2 separate regions of the Homo sapiens genome follow, and region 2 is linked to region 1. The links are contacts of gene promoters, found by promoter capture Hi-C in blood cells and fetal thymus (Javierre and others, 2016). All regions are on one chromosome and are shown on one strand. Each heading gives the region's core, a stretch centred on a gene start or on the middle of the fragment in contact. The rest is flanking DNA. Distances are from core to core; before and after follow the strand shown.

Region 1 (7,958 bases), core at 1,827-4,326:
CAGAGTCTGAGGTCAGAACCACTAGGAACACCATCTCTTTTTCGGGTCCTTTCTTCTTCTTTCTCCAGCCCGGTTCTCTGTGGTGGAGGAAAGACCTGCACCTGTGACAGAAGCGCACTTGGATTTGGTCCAGTTTGTGTGTGACTTTCAGCCGTGGGCTTGTTCATCAAGTGAGGGGGTGGAAGGTGCCCAGCCCTCAGTGGGTCCATGACCTCACTTCAACCAGAGCTACCCAACCCGCGTTCGGCCAATCATAACCCCTAACATCAATTTGACCTGGCACTCACCCCTCAGCAAATAACAAGGCCAACCACCCTCACTCCAGGCTCCAGCTTTTCCCAAGTGAGAAAGGCTTCTCTGGAAGCATGGACCCAGGTCACAGGAGGGTACAAGTACCCCGATTTCCCACATAAGCTGGTTGCCGCACTTAACCTGGCATCCTACCTCCAGCCACACCACCTGAACACAATTCCACTCAAAAAGTGAACTCAGACCCCGCCCTGTGAGGTGGGAGAAGTCCAGGGTGGAGAAAGACAGTGACCTTTCTTTCACCTTGAGAGGTGGGGTATGACCCAGCTCACCCCCACCAAAACCTACTGCATCATAGACACTCAACCTCATGGCCAGTCCTCATCACCCATGTCAACCCACTACCCCAGCTCAACCACATCTTAACATTTCCCCATCCAAAACCTCAATCTTGGTTCCATCTTCAGCCCCAACCCAACAGTACCCCAACACCAACTTATCCCTAGATACCTCCCATCTTACAATCTAATCCTATCCCAAAACCAGCTCAACTACCACCTCCAACTCTATACCCATCCTCATCCAATTTTCATTCACCTCCCCAAACTCATTGCATTCCTAATGTTGTCATCAGGCCCATCCTTAACCATAGACTCTACTGATTTCCTATATTAAGCCATATTTTTCTTCTTAGCAAAATACTTTGAAATGGACCCAACATTGGACACTGAGGTGTCGCCAATGCAAAGTTAGATGGGTTATCTGATTTTATGAGGTCTCTGTACCCTTTCCTGTCTTTGAGCCACTTTATGACTCTAAATTGTAGGTATCTGAGAGCAATGCAAATAATTCTTGTCCATAAATGTTTACATGAATTTTGCCAGGTGGAAGTACAATGGATTTCCCTCCTCCTCCCAGTGTGGAATAGCCAGTTTTGCATCTATTTGTAAATTCATTTCAGCATTCCTCGTTGTCTCTGTGCATATGGCTCTTTGTAACATCTTACTGGCTCTGCCATTTATTAATGAGTCAAGATACAATCTTTGACACATGTTCATTTCATATATGTCAGAGAGTCATGGTAAGACCATGTTTTAAAAGTTACCCTTTGACACTAGATTTGATCTCCACATCCAAATCTGAACTCCATCAATAAGGACTGTACAAGTTTCCATGTGAGCCCTCGCCCCATCCATCTCTATTCTTTATCCTCATTGTGACACCTCCACTCTCTCACTCTTTCCAAACTTCATCTGGTCCACGTCCCTGGCTTTCTTCCAAATTCTGACCCCACCTCAGTCCTTAATCCCTAATCCTGTCCCCTCCACCCCCTAGGATTAACTCAGGGCTCCACCCAGTCATAGTTCCTGGAGACACCTACTCATTCTCAAAACACCACCCCTTCCTCCTTCCTCTCCCCCACCCCCAATCCACGTCTTCAAAGCTTTCCGGCTCCTGCTTTTTCCTCTCCACCTAGGTCCCCGTGGACTCCCTCACCCCCTCTGGCCCTGCTCCTAAAAGGCCATTTCTGGAAAATGTTGCTTTCTCAGGTCGCATCTCTGCCCCCATCCAAGTCCGAGGGAGCTGATTTTCTATCCACCCAGCTGATGATTTCCTTCTTGTGTCCGGTGGTTGGCGGGAGCAGGGAGGCAGGATGATGGGATAATTGTGGGTGTCCTTGTGTCTTTCAAAAGAAAAAGGGTTGAGATGAGACTGGGAATTGGAACCTGGATGTGTTGAGAGCTAAACCTGAGATGAGGTTGGAGATGGGACTGGGGTTGAGGAACAGGCTGGAGTACTTGGTATGGTTAGGGATGGATAGGGAGGTGGGAATCTGATAGAACACGGCCATCTGGGGGCTGACTGCCTATTAAGAATTATGCATGGGGTTGGAGAAGAGGTTAGAAAACTGGGTGCAGAATGGGTTGAAGTTAGGGATGGGCATGGAACTCAGCGGGGTAGGGGGAAGGAAATGGGCTTTCCCCTTACCCTTTTTTGGGTCCTGAGGCCTGAAAGTTCACAGTGGGTTCAACTCTGCCTTGGGCGGGGTCAGACCTAGGTCCCAGCACGTCCTGGAAGCTCCGCCCCAAGCAGAGGGCCAAGCCCAGGTCGGGGGTGCCTGGAGACATCCCGCTGAGCCACTGGGGGTGGAGAGGGGGAGGCCAGGGACCAGGAAATGCTGAGTGAGCTGGGGGAGGGAGTTCAGGGGTTAAAAGCCATGGTTCGGGGCTGAAGTTCTAGACAGCTGGCGGCTGACGCTCCTCGTGGGCCCCTCACTCAGGTAGGGTCTGCCTGGGGCGGGGGCGGGGAGCGGAGGAGGGCAGGGAGGGGAGAGAAGAGGGGATAGGAAGGATGGGGAAAGCAGAAGGGCAGCTGAGTCAGGGAGAGGGAGAGTGAAGCTAGAGTCTCAGATCTAGAGAGAAACCTGCAGAGACGGAGAGAGGCGAAGGGCGCGGACAGATAAGAACTTGGGCTAATACCAAGCGTGTGGACAGACCCAGAGGGGTAGAATGGAAGGCAGACTCTGGAGGAAAAGGGCGAGAGTGCACCGACCACCCAGCTCGCCAGAGGGCAGGGGAGGAGGGACGGCTTCCTGGGGTGAGGGGCTGCACGCCGGAGCCCCAGGAGGTTGCACACTGTTCCTCCCACCTCGCCACTGCACCCCCACCAAGGATGGAATTGGAGGCGGGGGGCAGATTCCAGGGTCAGGGCTGTCAAGAGTGAATGAGGCGAGGAGACATTCAGGAGCAGAGAGGTTTCAGACGCGGAGGTTCCGGGCACGCCCTCAACACCCCCTTCACCTTCTCCTCAGGCCCCGCCCGCCCTGCCCTCCCCTCCCGATCCCGGAGCCATGTGGCCCCTGGCCCTAGTGATCGCCTCCCTGACCTTGGCCTTGTCAGGAGGTAAGAATGCGCGGGGGTGGAGGCGCGGCGGCCATTCGGGACAATGGTAGGAGGGGTCAGGCCGGAGGGGGAGGGGGCGTGGGAGCCGCGAGCTCCGCCCCCCGCCCACTCGGGGCCGGGTCCAGTGGGGACAGCTCAGAGCTCTTCCTGCTTGTCCCTGGGTGACCTGGTTTCCCGGCTGAGGTTGGCCCTCCGACCCCAGACCCTTCACCTCCCAAAATACCCTCGCAGCAGCCCCTCCCGCGTTCAAGGCTTCCTGTCCTCTCTGGAAAGCTGAAAGACATGGGTTCGCGTCCTGACGCTGCCGCTTTGAGCCAGTAGCCTAGCAGCTGCTTTGTGCCTAAATTGTTTTCATCTGGAAAATGGGCTTAATCTATAAGTGCTTACCAGAGAAGGTCACTGTGAATATTGAAACGAGGTAATGCGTCGAGCCTTCAGTATGTCGCAGGTAGAAGGGACTTGAAAGTTAGCCACTTAGCCGTTATTACTTTATTAGTAGTATTCCTTTTTTTTTTTTTTTTTTTTTTTGAGATGGAACCTTGCTCTGTCTCCCAGGCTGGAAGGCAGTGGCACGATCTTGGCTTACTGAAACCTCCGCCTCCCGGGTTGAAGCGATTCTCCTGCCTCAGCCTCCCGAGTAGCTGGGATTACAGGCGCCCGCCACCACGCCCAACTAATTTTTGTATTTTCAGCAGAGACGGGGTTTCGCCATGTTGGTTAGGCTGGTCTCGAACTTCTAACTTCAAGTAGCCCGCGTCAGCCTCCCAAAGTGCCAGGATTACAGGCATGAGCCACCGAGCCCGGCCTCTAGTATTCTGTCTTCATACTCAGCCCCTTCCAGAACCTTCTAGATTGTTATTTTAATCCTTGGGTTGACCCCAAACCTATGTGACCTCACCCCAAATTGGTAGTCCTTAAGATCCTTATGGATCTTTCCCATCTTTCCCTGCCGTTGTAGGCAGGTTCTCTGGAAACCCCGTTCATGAATCATTTATTCATTCAACAAACAGCTATTAAACACCGGCCACTGTGCTGGGTGCTGTACAAGCAGAGACACAGTCCCTGCTCTCAGCACCTGGAGTCTAGCGGGGACAGACGCAGATGTTATTCAAACAATTATCCAAATAATTAGTTAATAATTATCTTGACATGAGGTGAAGACTTCAAGGAGCCAAGCCAGGGGCCTAGAGATGTAATGGCGGCTTCCCGACCAGAGGCCTTCCCAAAGGGCTTGACCCTTGAGCCAAGACCTGAAAAAGGAGGGATCTGTGGGTGCCTGGCACCTGGCACCATCCTTGGCCTGAAGGTGGGGTGGCTTTTCTCCTCTGGCGACACTCCCTGGATTCATGCCCGTGCCACTCCTGAGTGCCACACCCTAGGCTAGGAGACCCACACGCTACGCCTTGTGGAGTCCTCAACAACCTGGCGAGGTAGGTGCATTGTAATTACTCCAATTTCATGGCAGAGAAACCTAGGACTCAAAGACAGAAGGCTCCTGCTCCAATGACACCGGCGATGCCTGAGTCAGAATCCTAATCAAGGTTGTTTTCCCTGTCCATATCCTGGACTTGAGGCTCTGAAAACCATTTTTATAACTTTTGACCTAATCATTTGCTTAAAGTTAGCTTTTTTTCTTCTTTTTTCACTCAAACAAAAGCATGTTCAACTTTATATTACTGTCCTGAATAGAGAATAGAATTCTTTGTCATAAATAGAAGGTAAGGAAGGAAATAAATCCTGCACAATGAAAAGAAAATAATATGTTTATTGGGTTGGACCACCTGAAATTGCTGATACTTGACCCTTTTTGACCTTCCTAAAACAACTTTTGCAGATGGTTCAGTGTAATAAATGTTAGGTGGCCTGATGAGGCTTCTGTGTCCTCCTGGCTTTGAAAAGTGAGCTCAGTGAGGATTAGGGAGGTGTTAAAACCATATTAGCACCATCCTGAGACTTTATCCTTGACAAAATCAGGTTTAAAAGAGAACTGGATGCTGGTTCAGCGTCTGAGTGTGCGATTTAACGTTACTTAAATCTCATCTCTCTACCATCTAAAATGATCCTGTGCTCACCGACAACTTCTGTCCCTAACTGCAAACCACTGAGCTAATCCAACTGCTTGCCCTGTAGTTGGGGAAACTAGCTAGGGAGGCAGAGGGACCTCCTGTTGTAGCTAATAATTAATAATAACATTTCCCACTGACTGAGTGCTCTCCATGCCACCTGCTGTGCTGCACGGTTTGAAATGCAGGATCATCTTGAATTCTTCAACTGCGCAATGAGAGATGAACTATTACTTTTTCTACTTGACAGCTGGGGAAACTGAGGCTGGTGATTTGCATAAGGTCACACAGTCACAAAATGGCATGCATGTTCAGGATTGGATTCTCCCTGTCCCACGGACCCCTGCTGTGCTTTCAATGCCAGACACAGTGCCTGGCACACACAGCATTTATTTATTGAGCCCCCATTGTGTGCCAGGCGCTGTGTTAGGTCCTGGGAATATGGTACTGAATAAAGCAGTTAAGGTGCCTGTTGTCAATGGAGCTTACAGTCAAAGTGGAGAGATTTTTAAAAACGAATACATACAAATGTGAAGAGAAATGAATAGCAATCATTGTTCTGATGAAGACCAACTGGAAGAATGTAATGGGGGAGGAGTCGGGACCAGGAGAGTCAACATTAGACCAGGTGGTCAGGGAAGGCCTTTCTGAAGAGGAGACATTTGAGCTGACCTCTCAGAATTAAGAAGGACCCAGACATACAACCTCTAAATTCTGAGGGTCATCCAGTAGAATATTCCATATATGTATATATGAAATATCCTATATCTGTGCTGTCCAATTATCCACTAGCCCCTTCAGGCTATTGAACATTTGAAATATGGCTGGTGTGACTTAAGAACTGAATTTTTAATTTAGTTTTACTTCATTTTAATTAGTTTAAATTTAAATAGCCACATGTAGCTAGTGGCTACCATATTAAACAACATAGGTCTGGAGAAAGGACTGTGCAGAGAGAGGAAATAGCAAGTATAAAATGTCTAGTATGGGGGCATCCAAGATGATTTAAATTCTTCTTTTCTTTAAATGCCTGGTGTGTTTGAAGAACAGGCCCATGAGGCTGGACTAGAGGAAGTCAGAAGAAAGAGGTTGGAGATGGGGTCAAAGAGGCTGGCAAGGGCCAGACAGCACAGAGTCCTGCACACCTTGGGAAGGCTTTTTGGATTTTATTTTAAAGAAAGTTGAGCCTGGGAACAACATCTGACTTTCTTTGTTTGAAGAGTCCTCAGCCTACTTTGAGAAGACTGGATCGGAGGGATGTAAAAGTGGAAGGATTTAGGTTAATGTTGTAGTCATTTGGGCTACAGAAGATGGGGCATGGACCAAGATGGTGGCAGAAGTGTGGAGATAACTGGATATTTGGGAGATAAAACCAATAGGAACTGGTTGTGAGTGATGAAGGAAAGAAGAGAAGCAAAGATGACTCCCAGGTTTGGGGCTGAGCACTGAGGTGGGAAATACTGGAGCGAACAGTTTTGATTGAGAAGAATCAAGTTGGGAATACAAAGCTTAAGATGCCTGTAAGGCATCCAAATCAACAGTGTTTGAGTTTTGAGCTTAAAGAAGAGTTCAGGGCTGGAGATGATTAGCCTATAGCTGGTATTTAAAGCCATGGAGGCAACCAGTATATATGCAGTGAAAGGATAGAGAGATGGGTGGAAAGATGATTGGATGGATGCATGGATGGATATATGGATAGATGGATGGATGGATGGTTGGATTGGATGGATGGATGGATGGATGGATGGATGGATGGATGGATGGATGGATGAATAAATGGACCAGTGGATGGAGGGACAGATGAGTGGATGGATGGTTGGATGGATGGATGGATGGATGGATGGATAGATGGTTAGATGACTACCTAAATGGATGAATGGATAGATGGATGAGTAGACGGATGGACAAATCAATAGGATGAATGGGGGATGGATGATTGGATAGATTGATGGATAGATATTGCCTAGGTGGATGTGTAGGTCAGTCTCACTTCTACCTCCTGAAATCCATCTTCTGGTAGAATGATATAAAAAATGCATGTGGAGAGAAAGTCAGGCTCCTGCTTACCTATCAGCAACATCCTCATTTTGTGAACTCTTCTGTTAACCCCCAGTGGAGGATTTGGTACTTCCTGAGAAAATAATGTCACCCCTTTGCCCTAATTCATCTCCACTTGGTCAAGAATAGCAACTGCCATAGGTCGGCAAATTCATCTTCAGTTCCTGGTCACCCAGGGCAATAATCCGACCCTTACCCCAAACCCAGAAACCACAACCCCAGGGCTCCTCTGCCCCCTGGATCCCAGTTTTCTAACAATCTCTCTTCTTTACCAGGTGTCTCCCAGGAGTCTTCCAAGGTTCTCAACACCAATGGGACCAGTGGGTTTCTCCCAGGTGGCTACACCTGCTTCCCCCACTCTCAGCCCTGGCAGGCTGCCCTACTAGTGCAAGGGCGGCTACTCTGTGGGGGAGTCCTGGTCCACCCCAAATGGGTCCTCACTGCCGCACACTGTCTAAAGGAGTATGTGGGGGCCGGGGGAGCATGGGGTAGGGATGAGAATGGGACTGGGATTGTGGATGGGGTAGAGTTGGATTTGAGGATGGAGTTGGAGTTAGGGTTGGGGATGGACATGGGAGTGAGAATGAGGTTTGGGGTTGAGATATGGGGATTGGGTATGGGAATAGAATCAAAGTAGGGGATTTGGATGGGATTGAAGTTGAGGATGGGGGAGATGTATTTGGAG
Region 2 (7,958 bases), core at 2,850-5,349, 130 kb after region 1:
ATAATGATGATGATGATGAAGGTGAAGGAAGGGGCATGAGCCAAGGAATATGGGCAACCTCTGGAAGGCAGGAGGACATGGGAATGGACCCTCCCCTAGAGCCTCCAGAAGGAACCAGCCCTGCCGACCACCTTGATTTCTGCCCAGTGAGATCTTTAGGACTTCTGACCTCCCAAACTACAATAGAATAAATCTGTGTTGTTTTAAGCAACTAGACTCTCAGTGATTTGTTACAGTAGCCACTGTAACAAACACAAAGGGCCTCGCCGAGGAGGTACCATTTGAGACTGAGAGGATAGAGTGGCCAGCCCCAGGCAGGGCGCAGTGGCTCATGCCTATAACCCCAGCACTTTGGGAGGCTGAGGTAGGTGGTTACTTGAGGTCAGGAGTTCAAGACCAGCCTGGCCAACATGGTGAAACCCTGTCTCTACTAAAAATACAAAAACTAGCTGGGCGTGGTGTTGCACACCTGTAATCCCAGCTACTTGGGAGGCTGAGGCAGGAGAATCACTGGAACCTGGGAGGCAGAAGTTGCAGTGAGCCGAGATTGCGCCACTGCACTTCAGCCTGGGTGATGGAAGGAGACTCCATCTCAAAAAAAAAAAAAAAAAGAAAGAAAGTGGCCAGCCCCATGAACATCTGGGGCACTGATGTTCCAGACAGAGAGGAGGTCAAGTGCCAAGTGCTGAGATTGGAGCATGCTGGACATTCTCCAGGAGCTGAAAGAAGACCCATAGAGCTGGACACTTGTTTGTTTTCTCTGAGAATTTGGGAAGTCATTGGAGGTTTTCCAGCCGGATCTGGTTCATGCACAAAGGAGAACATTCTGGCTCTTTGTGGAGAACAAACTGGAGCTGCTTGTTGGCCAGGGTAGAAACGGGAGGTAGGTTATTGTATTAGTCCATTCTCAAGTTGCTGCAAAGATACTACCTAAGACTGGGTAATTTATAAAGGAAAGAGGTTTGATTGACTCATAGTTCAGCATGGCTGGGGAGGCCTCAGAAAACTTACGATCATGGTAGAAGGGGAACCAAACATGTCCTTCTTCACAGGGTGGCCGAAAGGAGAAGGGCAAACTGAAGGGGGAAAATTATAAAACCATCAGATCTTGTGAGAACTCACTACTATCACAAGAATAGCATGGGGGGACTGTCCCCATGATCTAATCACCTCCCATGAGATCCCACCCCCAACACGTGGGGATTATGATTCAAATTAAAATCCAAGATGAGATTTGGGTGGGGACACAGGGCCAGGCCATATCAGTTATCAAAAGAATATCCATTAATTTAAATTGGAAAATGTCAGGGCAGAAGCAGCTGCCTGTGGGATCTCTATCCCTTCTCCCCTAGGTATGTGTCTTTCACGGTCTCTTTCTTCTCATCCCACCTCTGTTTTCTCATTACATTGACTGCCTGTTGCCTATCAAAGCATCTCTTCTCTCCCCCATAACTGGCTCCAGTTACTGGGTTTTCTTTGTTCATAGCCCCTAGAGAAAAAATCTGGTTGGCTGTCCTAGGGTCAGATGCAGACTCTATCTCTAGTCTGAAAGGTGGGCCCACAGAGTGCAACATGGATCCCCCAGCCACCCCTTCATCCATAGCAGTGGGCAGGGCAGGGCCCCTAAGAAGGTTGTGGGCGTGGTAGTCATTGAAATGGACAACACATCAACACATGGACATTCTAGTCTTCAGCACTTTCTGAGTGACCTGTGTAAAGGTCATTTGTACTTTTTCTGGACCTCAGTTTCTCTACCTGTAAAATGGGAGGATTGAAACGTAATGATCTCCACGTGCCAATCCAGCTCTAAGATTTCTCAAGATACTCACAGGTGGTTATAGAAAGTCACTCCAGGGAATACTTTGGAAATTGAACACTCTAGAAAAGGAATTACACTAGAAAATTTTGTCAGTAACAAAATACCCAACTCAAAGTGGGTTAAGCAATAAGGACGTGTATTATTTCACATAATAAGAAGCCCCAAAAGAGGGAAGTACTGTGGTTTGGTGATTCCTACATTACATCATTAGGGACCCATCTTTCTTCTCTACTGCCCTCTGCATTCATTCATTCATATATTTATTCAACTCATGAGCACCTATGAGAGCCAAGTAATATTATAGACACTTGGGATAGACTGATTAATAAAACAGACACCAAACCCCTGCCTTCCTTAAGCTTATGTTCTAGCAGGAAGAAGAAAATATGTCAGCTTTCTCCTTTAGGCTTGTAATCTCGTGGCTGTAAAATGGCTGCCACAGCTCCAGACATCACATCCTCACGCACCATGACAAAAGGCAGGAAGGAGAGACTCTGTTGGCAGAGCTCTCTTCATTAGGAAAGAAAGTCTTTTCCAGAGTCCCCCCACACCCCTGGATCTGTTCTTGGGTCTCAATGACCACTCATTGGAGAAGGTCCCAATGCTGACACTCTAGCTTCAAGAGAAGCTGAGAAAGTGAGTTTCTGACATTTCTCTGTCACGGGTGCAGTCCTTACCAGCAAGGAAGAAGAGATAAGAAGTGTCTGCCTGATGAACAGTCAAAGGTGTGAGAGAAGGACACATACATCAAAATGATCCAATAATTGTCACCTTTATCTTCCCCTTTGTGCCTAGCCATTTACAAGTCCTCACGACTTTTTAGGGGACATTCCAGAAAGACTGGGCTGCCAGGGTGTGTGGTGTGGTGTGAAAATAGGGGCAAATAGTACTGGGTGACAGTTGTAATTCAATGTTTGTTTTTTGTTTTTGTTTTTCTTTAGACAGAGTCTCACTCTGTCACCCAGGCTGGAGTGCAGTAGCGTATTCTCGGCTCACTGCAACTTCCACCTCCCCAGTTCAAGCAATCCCCATGCCTCAGCCTCCTGAGTAGCTGGGACTATAGGTGTGAGCCACCATGCCTGGCTAATTTTTGTATTTTTAGTAGAGACAGGGTTTCGCTATGTTGGCCACACTGGTCTCGAACTCCTGACCTCAGGTGATCTGCCTACCTCAGCCTCCCAAAGTGCTGGGATTACAGGCGTGAGCCATCTGGCCTCAATTTTTTTTTTCTTAATCTTAAAAAAATCTAGATAGGAGCAGAATCCTAGCTAAGGGGCAGTCTTGAGCACATTTTCCAAAATGATGTTTCCGGTTAAGCTGCTTTGAGGAACAAGAGAAGATTCATGCTGGCTTCAATAGTAAATAAGTTTTAATTTCACATATCAAGAAATCCAGGTAAGGGCAGCTCCAGACACAGGGCGTCAGGCTGTGTTTCGCTTGGTTCTCCTCGGCGGGGGGTCATCATCCTTAAGATCAACACCCGTAGTGGGTCTGTCTTTGAGAAGGATGATGCTTTTCCAGAAACCACCCCAGCAGAATTTTATCTTATTCTTACTGGCCAGAATTGGGTCACATGTCCTTTCCTAAACCAGTCACAGACTGGTGGGGTGGGGTGGGGAGTGGGGTGGAGAGGTTAACATGGTTGATTTGAACCAAACAGGATTATTCTTTCACGATGGAGTGGAGGACCTCCCCTAAAGCATGTAGAAGCTGCTCCTTGAGAGAAATCAGGATTCCGACATCAAAGAACGGGAGGAACAACCAATGATGTCTGCCCCATAGATGCCCTTGCAGCAATATTTTAAATTAACTTTTATTGAAAGATAATGCACAGGGCCGGGCATGGTGGCTCACACCTGTAATCCCAGCACTTTGGGAGGCCGAGGCGGGTGGATTACCTGAGGTCAGGAGTTCGAAACCAGCATGGCCAATGTGGCGAAACCCTGTCTCTACTAAAAATACAAAAATTAGCCGGGCTCGGTGGTGGGCACCTGTAATCCCAGCTACTCGGGAGGCTGAGGCAAGAGAATCGCTTGAACCTGGGAGGTGGAGATTGCAGTGAGCCAAGATCACGCCATTGCACTCCAGCCTAGATGACAGAATGAGACTGTCTCAAGAAACAAAAAAAGAAAGAAAGAAAGAAAGAAAGAAAGAAAGAAAGAAAGAAAGAAAGAAAGAAAGAAAGGAGAAAGAAAGAAACATGCACAGAAGTATCATAAATGGCAGTGAAGTTTCACAAAACAGAACACACCCTTGTAACCAGCATTCAGACAGAGCCACGGAACCTAAGCATCTCCTCAGAAAAACCAGTGGGGTCTTCCTTGCAGTCACTACCTCCCCTGCCAAATGTAGCCGCTTCCATTACTACCTAAATCCCTCGCCTGCAAGGGTAGCGACTTTCATGACTTCTCCCCAAGTGTAGCAACTTTTGTGACTTCTATCACCATAAATTAATTTGTCCCATTTATGAACAACATATAAATATAAATTTATTTACATAGACATATAGAAGTATAATAAGTTTATATAAATAAATCATTTGGGAGGCTGAGCCGAGTGGATCACGAGGTCAAGAGATCGAGACCATCCTGGCCAGCATGGTGAAACCCCGTCTCTACTAAAAATACAAAAATTAGCCGGACATGGAGGCATGCACCTGTAATCCCAGCTACTTGGGAGGCTGAGGCAGGAGAATTGCTTGAACCTGGGAGGCAGAGGTTGCAGTGAGCTGAGATCGTGCCACTGCTCTCCAGCCTGGTGACAGAGTGAGACTTTGTCTAAAAAAACAAAAAAACAAACAAACAAAAAAAGCAATGAGTGTCTTATATTATTTTGTGTTGGGCTTTTTTTTTTCTCAGTATTATATATTGTGTGGTCCGCCCAGGTTTTTGTTTATGGTTGTAAATGTTTTATTCTCATCGTTGCACAGTATACCATTGTGTAAATGTACTCCGATTTATTGAGCCATTTTTTTACTATGAGGAGACATTTGGATAGTTTCTAGTTTCTTTAACAGTTGTAAAGGTAATACACTTGTGGAACAATTGCTACAACCGTGATGAAAAGAAGAGAGGCCGGGCATGGTGGCTCACACCTGTAATCCCAACTACTTCAGAGGCTGAGGCAGGAGGATTGCTTGAGCCCAGGAGTTCGAGACCAGCCTGGGCAACAAAGCCAGACCCTGTCTCAAGAAAAATAAACCAAGAGTTTAGGAGAAACAGTGTGCTTGGTTCTCTGCCCACCAAAGATGCAAGCACTATCCCCACGCTGATTGTTGCTAATGGCAGAGCCTGGATGCATTTTCCCATCAAGTTCAGGCTCAAGGGCAAACAGGCGAACAGAGGGGAGATGTGTGTGGACTAAGAGGCAGAGGTTGGTGTTTTGTGACTTGTCTGACTTGGCACAGGGCAAGCTGGGTGCAACTGAGATGTGCTTATCATTCTTCCCACTGCATTACTGACGAGCCCGAGTATTGCTCAGATTGGCATATGACCTGGATACATCCGGGTGGCCATGTCATCCAGTTATAAGCAAGAAGACAAAGCTGGAGTTTCTGGGAAAGTTTTTGTTTTGCTGATAAAAGAGAAAGAGTAGGCTGGGTGTGGTGGCTCACACCTATAATCCCAGCACTTTGGGAGGCCGAGGCAGGTGGATCACGGGGTCAGGAGTTCGAGACCAGCCTGGCCAACATGATGAAACCCCATCTCTACTAAAAACACAAAAATTAGCTGGGCACAGTGGTGGGCACCTGTAATCCCAGCTACTCAGGAGGCTGAGGCAGGAGAATTGCTTGAACCCGGAAGGTGGAAGTTGCAGTGAGCCGAGATCGCACCACTGCATTCCAGCCTGGGCGACAGAGCAGGACTCTGTCTTAAAAAAATAAAAAATATAAATAAATAAATAAATAGGAGAGAGAGAGTAATGTTTGGACCTTTGGACCTTCCCTTCCACCTCTTCTCACCTGGAATATGGGTGCCTGGAGACGGACCAGCCACCTTGCATGATGAGAATAAAAGCCGCAGGATAAAGATGGGATTACAGAAAGCAGCTCACATTTCTGATGATTTCCTTCGGAGCTCCATGCATGGACTTCCTACATCTGGGCTTGGAACAGGCAGAATACAATCTTGGGTGTCCGGGCTACCGTAGTTGGTTTTCTATATGCCGATATAGAGAGGATGGTATGGGAAATGAAGCTTCTGGAAACTGAAAGATGAGCTAAGACATTGTGCAGATTTTCCTGGGCAGCCTTGACTTTCTTTTCCTGGATGAAGATGTCTTTTTAACATGGAGGCTGGATCCAGAACCAGGAGGGGACAGATGTCTGTAAATTGTTCCCATTAAGGGTGGAGGAGATCAGTGTATTTCCTGCATGGTGATGTAAGTGGTGAGAAAAATGCGGCTGTGGCGGTGCAAGAAATAAGCTCCTCGCCCTACTCGATATTAAGACATGCTACAAAACAAAATCAGTGTTTTTAAAAAAGGGTGGGATCAGTGCAAGAACAGACAAGTAGACCAGAGAGGCAGGAGAGAGGTCCCAGAAAGAGAATCATAGGAAACTGATGTATCATCATATAATATATTAGGGACTTAATATAAGATAAAATATCAACACAAATTAGTGGGAGAATGATGGTATATTTAGTAAGTGGCATTAGAAAAACTCGTCTGCTGTGCAGAGAAAAAGAAACCTAGATTTCTAATACTACACATGAAATTGGATTCCAGCTGTATTAAAGACCACTGAAAGATAATATTATAAAATTAATAGAAAAAATCATGGTGAATATATATTTATTTTATTTATTTTTTTATTTTTTTGAAGACTCTATCGTCCAAGCTGGAGTGCAGTGGCATGATCTGGGCTCACTACAACCTCTGCCTCCCCGGCTCAAGCGATTCTCATGCCTCAGCCTCCCAAGTAGCTGTAACTACAGGCACATGCCACTACGTCCAGCTGCTTTTTCTATTTTTGGGTAGAGATGGGGGTTTTGCCATGTTGGCCAGGCTGGTCTCAAACTACTGACCTTAAGTGATCCTCCTGCCTTGGCATCCCTGTGCTGGGAATACAGGCATGAGCCACAACACCCGGCCTATTTTTGAATCTCTGTGATAGGGGATGACTTCTTAAGACCTAAAAAAAACACACATCATATGACAAAACATTGATTAGTTTGATTATTTTAAAATTAAACACTTTGGTTTAAGAGAAGGTAAGGACGATTCATAGGCATTTATCAGAATGGGAGAAGTTATTTGTAACATCCAAAATGGACAAAGAACTAGAACCTGTAATATGCAAGAAGCACCTGTGAATTAATGAGAAAAAATATGGATATCCTTATAGGTAAATGGATAAAAGCTACAAAGAGGTGATTTGCAGAAGCAGAATTCCAAAAGCTAACATGCACATAGAGATGTTCAAGGCCAGGCGCGGTGGCTCGTGCCTGTAATCCCGGCACTTCGGGAGGCCGAGGCAGGCGGATCACTTGAGCTCAGGAGTTCAAGAACACCCTGGGCAACATGGCGAAACACGGCCTCTATAAAAAAATATTAAAAATGAGCCAGGCATGCAGGCGTGGTGGCGGGCGCCTGTAGTCCCAGCTACTCGGGAGGCTGAGGCAGGAGAATGGCGTGAACACGGGAGGCGGAGCTTGCAGTGAGCCGAGATCACGCCACTGCAATCCAGCCTGGGCAACAGAGCGAGACTCCGTCTCAAAAAAAAATAAAAAATAAAAAATAAAATAAAATTAGCCAGGCATGGTGGTGTCAGCCTGTGGTCCCAGCTACTCTTGAGGCTGAGGTGGGAGGATCACTTGAGCCTGGGAGGCTGCCATGAGCTGTGATCGCAGACTGACACCTGGTCTCTAAAAAGAGAGAGAGATGTTCAAACTTTTTAGATACTGTAACTTGAGATGTGACTTTACATCAAGTAGTCTTCTCATTTTGAGAAGGGCAGACAAGGTCAAGGGCTGTCAGGGATGTGTAGACATTCGAATGTTCAAGTGCAACTGGGTTGAGTGTGGTGTCTCCAATTATGAAGACGGAGCTGATGCTATTTCATCAAACAAGTATACACACACCCAATGACTCAGCGATTTCTCTCCTGGCTACACATCCCAAAGAAATTCTTACACAC

What was found. Contacts are between HindIII fragments. The CHiCAGO score rates a contact against its expected background, and 5 or more counts as called.
Region 2: a fragment that was not itself captured here is called in contact with the fragment with the promoter of KLK13 in region 1 in 1 of 17 cell types (M1 macrophages); the score reaches 5.3 in M1 macrophages.

Annotation. Positions count from the first base shown.
Region 1 is chr19:51,060,210-51,068,167 of GRCh38, reverse strand. It overlaps KLK13 (kallikrein related peptidase 13), which reads left to right and starts at 3,076. Exons shown (of 5, transcript NM_015596.3): 1 at 3,076-3,152; 2 at 7,549-7,735. The coding sequence starts at 3,101. The HindIII fragment of the contact is 5,030 bases long and covers 1,696-6,725 here.
Region 2 is chr19:50,933,816-50,941,773 of GRCh38, reverse strand. No RefSeq gene overlaps it. Among named protein-coding and RNA genes, the nearest start is that of PPIAP59, 10 kb to the right of the region's middle. RefSeq lists a silencer at 2,573-2,736. The HindIII fragment of the contact is 3,837 bases long and covers 2,181-6,017 here.